Regions from separate parts of the Homo sapiens genome. Here region 2 is linked to region 1. Evidence: promoter capture Hi-C in 16 types of primary human blood cells and fetal thymus (Javierre and others, 2016). All regions are on one chromosome and are shown on one strand. Each heading gives the region's core, a stretch centred on a gene start or on the middle of the fragment in contact. The rest is flanking DNA. Distances are from core to core; before and after follow the strand shown.

What was found. Contacts are between HindIII fragments. The CHiCAGO score rates a contact against its expected background, and 5 or more counts as called.
Region 2: a fragment that was not itself captured here is called in contact with the fragment with the promoter of CD101-AS1 in region 1 in 1 of 17 cell types (fetal thymus); the score reaches 7.5 in fetal thymus.

Annotation. Positions count from the first base shown.
Region 1 is chr1:117,057,823-117,061,452 of GRCh38, forward strand. CD101-AS1 (CD101 antisense RNA 1) reads right to left here and starts at 1,668. Exons shown (of 4, transcript NR_110786.1): 1 at 1,551-1,668. TTF2 (transcription termination factor 2) reads left to right here and starts at 2,504. Exons shown (of 23, transcript NM_003594.4): 1 at 2,504-2,552; 2 at 2,633-2,735. The coding sequence starts at 2,525. RefSeq lists a silencer at 1,575-1,624 and an enhancer at 2,045-2,204. The HindIII fragment of the contact is 2,167 bases long and covers 18-2,184 here.
Region 2 is chr1:115,643,717-115,647,196 of GRCh38, forward strand. The region is part of intron 1 of VANGL1 (VANGL planar cell polarity protein 1); the gene reads left to right. Among named protein-coding and RNA genes, the nearest start is that of VANGL1, 3.5 kb to the left of the region's middle. The HindIII fragment of the contact is 4,549 bases long and covers 1-3,480 here.

The DNA of each region.
Region 1 (3,630 bases), core at 418-2,917:
TTATTTTGAATAAATCAAGCTTTAAGGAAAAACAAACTCTAAACTTTACTCAAAATAGAGATCCATAAAGCACATTCTCCCAAGGTCTCTCCGGGGGTCTGTAGGCTAATTAACAATATAAATTTAAAATATAAATTAAGAATAAAAATTAATACACATACACCAATACATGTGTATATTTTGAAAAGTGTATGTTGTATAATTCATTATTATTTATTTCAATAGGCATAAGTTTTTTTTTAAGAGACAAAGTTTCACTCTGTCACCAAGGCTAGAGTGCAGTGGCACAATCACAGCTCACTGTAGCCTCAAACTTGTGGGCTCAAGCCATCCTCCCACCTCAGCCTCCTGAGTAGCTAGGACCGCAGGTGCCCACCACCATACTCAACGGGCATAAAAATTAATTTTAAAAATGTTTCCAGTTATGACCATCTTTCGTCCAATCTCAAACTTATTTTTTTCAATCTTGTAAATATGATGAGGTGGAATAAGTTGTCCAGGGACTTAACATTTTGATCTAGTATATTTTTAATTTATGGAAGAAATATTCCTCCTGTCTGTGATTTGGCTGTGCACACTTTTGTGAGGTTGGACTGGAGATACCGACTTGGGTACTTGCAGAGGAGGAGCTTCTTCCTTAACGGGATATTTAAGAGGCCCCGATTTTGCCTTGTTTCGAAAATTATTCAAGAAATAATTAATTACCATGCCCCTCTTTCTGCAAATCCTGTATTCATGGTATACTACCTCCAATACAGCATCTATTAAACATGTACAAATACATCATTTGCAAGAATAACAATCTTGGAATAATGAAAATGCTTCTACCTATTTGTTGTTCCTGTCTTATCTCTAAGTTCATCTAAGTTTCGGAAGGGTAGTTATGTATAAAGGAACTTCACTTTGGAAATTCCATTTTTCTCTAGTCCTAGAGAGTTACTGCTAACTCCATTCATTTTGACATTTAAATACTATTTTATATTGTTATTTAAGTGTTCAACATGTACTAGTTCAGTCTCCTCAAAATACTGAGTAAGTTCCTTGTGCTTAGAATAGTTGTTTCAAACTTTGTGTGTGTGAATGAATGAATTTTACATTTCTCAAGCACCTAGTCCACAACGGGCACAAAAAAGCTATTTAGTAAGTACTGTTTAATTAATAAATGATACCTCAGGTTTGTCTCCCTTCCTCCGGATCCCCATAACATGTACATTTATCACATCGCCCAGATTTCCTAGACATTACAGATTTTCTGTTCTACGGCCCCCATAAGAACAGTGCAGGTGCCACACCATATGTCTGGGACATATGGTCCTCAATAGCTGCAATATGAAACTATTTCTATTGCAATAAATCTAATATCTATTCCTCTCTGTTTACTAATAGTTTTGATTACAACTTCAAATTTTAAAAATCGAGGATGAAGTTAAATAGAAGGGAACTGTCCCCTTTCTTCTATTTAACCTCGTCTTCGATTTTTAAAATTACAAAAGCATAATAGTAAAAAAAAGTTTGACAATACAAAATGATAAAGTAAAATTCGCCTTCACCAAAAGTCATCTATTTCCCCTTCTGTGGTTTCCACGTTGCGGCTGGTAACTCGGGGCTTCCACGCTGGGCGAGCCTAGAGAACATCCAGTACACACAGGAAGCAGCAGCGCGGGCCAAATGGCGCTGAGACCTGCGCACCTGTCCACGGACCGCCCACTCGCCAACTCTGACCTTGGGTGAGTCTCTCAAACTTGAGTCTCGGAATCTTCCACAAAATGCTACCCATCTCACCAGGTCGAGTGAGGAGGGTCGTGTTATGTGTAAGCACTTTGTGAAATCTAAAGCACGAGGCAAACGTAAAGCATTGTAGGGGGTCCTAGAGAAGTCTTTGTGCCTGCCTATCAGAGCCGTTTCAGTTCCCCGCAGCAGCTTCCAAGGACCTCCCACCATGCCCGCCGCTTCGGCTCCTGCACTGCAAATCTCGCGGCTCGGCCTGCAGCGGCGGCTTCCCCTGGCCTCCCACCCCAGCGACTGAGCGCGGAGCCCAGCGCGCACGAGCGCCAGCCTGGCTCAGAGACACCCACGAAGCCAGGGCCTTTCAGCGCCTGCTAACTGGCGCTACCCCTAGGGCCGCCTCTCGGTTTTAAACGTAAACAAGAGTTGCCCTTCCGTCTTCCAAGACCTGCAAATCGAAGCTTCTTTTCCTCCAGAAGCCCCGCCACCTTCTAAGCTTCTCCCCAGCCTCAGCCACGCCCCAGCCTGCAAAAGCCGGGTCCTTTACGCCCCCTGGCTCCGTATTTGATTTCGGCGCGCGCCATACCTGAGGGCAGCTGTGATTGGTTGGAGGTGAGCGAAGTTCCTATATGATTGGCTGATAGCGGCTAGGACGGGTGAAGGCCAAGGGCGGAGAATTATGGGAGGGATTAAGACTGCAAGAGCTGAGTGATGGTTGGTTCCTGAACAAAGAGGGCGGAGTAAAAGGCGGAAGCAGAATTGGGGGCGGGGCTTTGTGGAACTTGGGGGACCCAGCGAAATGGAAGAAGTTAGGTGTCCAGAGCACGGTAAGGGGCTAGGGTCTCAGCGTCCCGGGGCCTGTTGATTTAGCGTGGCGTAATCGTTGTTCACTTTCTTCTCTCTTCAGGGACTTTCTGCTTTCTTAAGACCGGCGTCCGCGATGGCCCGAATAAAGGAAAGAGCTTCTACGTGTGCCGGGCAGACACGTGCAGCTTCGTGCGGGCCACCGAGTAGGTCTGGAGCTGGGCCCCACTCCCTGTGGCTGCCCGGGGCCTCCCGAGAGGAGCTTCCCGCTCCCCGCTGTCGGGCGTCACAGGGCCGAGGAGTGGTGGGGCCCTAGTTTGCGGTGTCAGGACCCTTTAAGCAATTGGTGATCCCAGGGCAGCGTGGCGTGTTCGGAAGACGCCCAGCTAATTCTGGCTGTGTGACCCGAGGCTGGTTACCCCCCTCTCTGGGCCGATGGTTCCCCTACCTGTAAAATTGAGGATCCGGTGTTTTCCAGCTCTGGGTTTCTATTCACTTGACAGGCCTTAACCACTCCCTTCTCCTGCCCAGACAGTCCCTCCCCCTTTAAAGGAGTAAGGACACACAGCAGACATAGTGGAAAATAATTTGTCCCTGTTTTGCACTAGTTTTAGGCCCGACGGTTTTTTTTAAATGTTTGAGCTTAAAACACTCTAGTGATTAGTTGTTAGCCTTCTTATTTTTAAGTAGGATTCTCTGCATCTAAATGGTGAAATTGATAATTCAAAGAAATTAGCGCTGGAAGAAACAACGGAGGGCCTGGCGCGGTGTGTGACGCCTGTAATCCCAGCACTTTGGGAGGCGAAGGCGAGCGAATCGCTTGAGCCCAGGGGTTCGAAACCAGCCTGGGCAACATGGTGAAATCCCGTCTCTACGAAAAATTAAAAAAAATTGTCTAGGCATGGTATCACACGCCTGTAGTCCCAGCTACTCGTGAGGCTGAGGTGGGAGGAGAGAGTCAGAAATGTTAAGCATCTTCTCTAAAGTGAGGAAAGTTAATAGTTTGTCAAGTGTTAATGTTTTCACAGTACCAAGTGTCTACATTTTCTATGTGAATTTTAAAACTATCATCACATCATTAAACATCTCCTGCTCTCTATT
Region 2 (3,480 bases), core at 192-2,691, 1.4 Mb before region 1:
TAAGCAACAGGACAAAACCATAAAGGAAATTTAAAGTTTCTTTACCAAGCAACAATTCCATGTCACCCTTTGTTTGAAGGATAAATGTGTTGAATGAAGAAGGCATCCTCCCCTTCATCATCCCCTTAACACACTTATATACACACACTGTGCTTGCTACCCTAGGCCTTATCAGCTATTTTGGTGGGATGGGCCCTTGTCACATTGTGTTTTAATTGGAGGTCTCCACATTGGGGCTGTGAGCTCATTGGGAGTTAGAACTATTTTAGATCCATTTCTTTTCTCCTGAGTGCCCCACGATGCTTGGAACACTGAACCTGTGAGTAGAAGTTGAAATTGCAAAATTCTTAGTGGGGTTATATGTGGTTTGGGACAATTTGTGATTGTTGCTTATACTCCTCTATATAAACAAACAATTCTAGTAATTGCTACAGTGCTGTCAATTTTCTGTAGCTAAGAACACAGGTTCTGGAGTTAGACTCTCAACGTTTAAGCCCTGGCTCCTGTGGCAGTCTGGTTTCCCTAACTAACATGATATTAATGTCTTATTTTTCTTAAACACTTGTTATGCGGATTAAGTGAGATATTACATGTAAGTGACTTAAAACAGCATCTAACACATAGTAAACACTTGACAACTAGAAACTGTTAGACTATTACCATCATCTCTGTAAAATCAGCTAGCTGGTTAGGGTCTCGCTGTATAGGGCATGTGATTTGGGCATCATGCTATTCTATTTTCCTTAAGATGGAAAAGATTAGGTGGGCTTGTGATTGGACCATGTTTCTGTTAGCAATATTGGTTTGGTGTTAGCAGTATTGGTTTGATGTTAGCAGTATTGAAGTTTGATGCAAGGATACATGTGTGTGCTGTTGTCTCTAGCAGTGTCCTTCTGAATCCCAGTTACAGGACAACAGTGATCAGACTCTGTACCATCAGATTTACAGAGGAGATAGTACTCATGAGATCTATTTTTCTGAAGTTTAAATATCTGGCAGGGAACAAGGGAGTCACTTGCAAGCAAATATACATCACATAACTCCAGACATGTTAACGATTCACACCTCTTCAGAAATCTGTACCCAGCTGCTGGAGGTGTTTCAGGGGTAATTAATGACTGGAGCCAAGAGAAGTTATTCTGGCAAGGTGAGTTGAAATCATTGGCGAAACAAGTAAAACAAAGTTGACATTTTCTTTCCTTGTAAATAATGACCCAGAATCATTCATTTATAAGCTGTTGTAATAAAAGAATCATTGGGTTTGTCACAAATGCCATAAGCCCAGCAGATCCTCACATCAGTGACCTGCATGATGTTTGGTGGTTTATAGGCCACAAGTTCAAAATGTTTTATAGATTTGCCCTGCATCTCTGCCCGCTCCTTTCCAGCCCATGCCCCTCCAAATAAACCCACTAAAACACACACGGTTTCCTCTGGTCTCTCTGACATTTGCTTCCAACCTGGGGATGGTAAATAGAGGCCTGTAAGAAACAGAATAGAAATCACTTGTTACTCAGCTATAGCTAATAGTAGCAGTTAAAGGTGGTAGCAGAGACCAGAAAAATGTGTATAAGTTCAGTGAAAATGATACAGAAGTTATATGCCATACAACCCCTTCAGTTCTTCCTAACTGAAGGAATTTTACTCTAGTGAATACTAGTAGTAGTTGACAGCTGTGAGTGCCTACCACGTGCTAGGCACTGTTCTAATAATTTTTATGAATTATCTCATTTAATACCTACCACAGATCTATAATATAAGTAAAATAAAATCTGTTGTTACAGTTAGGGAAACTGAGGCAGAGAGCAGTTAAGTAACTTGTTCTGAGGTCACACAGCTAAGTACTAGAGCCAGGATTTGAATGCTCTTCACCCACAATTTGGGCTCATTGCTACTCTCTAGAAGAATAGTTGACTCTAAACAAAATTATTTCAATTGTCACTTTCCCCTTGAGTGCCATTTAATTAAGAATGGGTACCCCTAAGAAGAATGTTAGCTTCAAGACATAATATAAATAATAATTAATAGCATAATCTCTGCAGAATTCTATGTAAAAATCAAATATTCAGAATAATATACACAGCATATATAAGCATGGTTGTACCAGACACCACTTTTCCTTGGAAATAGATCTACTTACTGCATAGGAAGCAAAATCTCTCTTTAAATTCAGTGCGTGTCTCTGTAACCCTTACAAAGTAACTTTCCAAACCAGAGCTCCCTTAATTACTTAATAGCTCTAGGCAGAGCTGTTGATGTTTTTATAATTTCCTTTTTGCGAAGGTTAGCTTATGTTTACCACTGTCATTATCATAACATATTATTTCCTTCATACGATTTGCTAAACACTGTGTTTTCATATTAAGTAGTAGGATTTTTATATGAGTGAACATGACTTTAGGAGAGAATTCTGTTTGAGGCTGATTATCTTCATTTTGCTTTTGATAAAGGGTGGTGAAGGAGGTTCTTTCTGACATTTTTGCCTAGGAAGTCCAGAATTTAGGACACTGCCACTTAGAAGCACTCTGTGCACCTATCTCCCATTGTTGACCTTGCCTGCATGCAATGTGGTTCAATGAGCCTGGCCGTGTCCTAATATTTGCCTCCAGCCCCTACCCAAGCAGTGCCAAGCAATACACTCTTAAGGGGTGGGTGACCGGTGAGGCAAGATGCTCTTGGGCAGTGGCTGAAAGAGGCTGCTGCTGATTTTTACTCAGTGTGTCTGGCATACGAACTCTGCCCCTGAGTGGGACTGCCATGCGAGCCAGTAGTATAGCTTTTTTTTTTTTTTTTTTGATAGTTCTGGTATCACGCCTCTATCTAATATCTGCATCTTTTTTTTTGCCACCTCTAAAACTAAGGATTTAAAATAGATAATTTCTAAAGTTTCTTCCACAATGAATCTATGGCCTCATGTCCTAAGATCTGCCACAAAACCCTTCATTCAGCAGACATTTATAGGGTACCCATAATGTCCTAGGAGCTGGAAAGACAGGCAGTCATGAAAGTGCCTCTGCCCTCATGGAGCTTACAGCCTGTGAAGAAACTAGACAATAAGTGATCACACAAACAAATGTATCACTGGAAGTTGGATAGAAAGGAAGAGTACAGGGTACTAGAGAAGAGCCTGACTGAGATTGAAGGATCAGGAAAGGCCTCTTGAAAGGAGCAGTATTTAAATTAAGGAGTGATGAGTAGGAATTTGGCAAAACAGGGCATGTAAAGGGTGAGTACCAACAGATATACTGGGCTCTGCCAAAGCCCTAAGACTCTACCTTAAAGGAGCTGGGGCTAGAGAAGGAGGAGGGAGCTAGAGCGTCGGGCAGGACATTGCATACCAAATGAAAGATTTTTGTATTTTATTTAAAGTGCAGTGGGACACCACGGAAAGGTTTTAAACAGGGAAGTGACGTCTGCATTGTAATTTAAAAGGTCACTCTGGCTGCTGCCCAGCCTGGGCCAAACACAATATGAGTCATG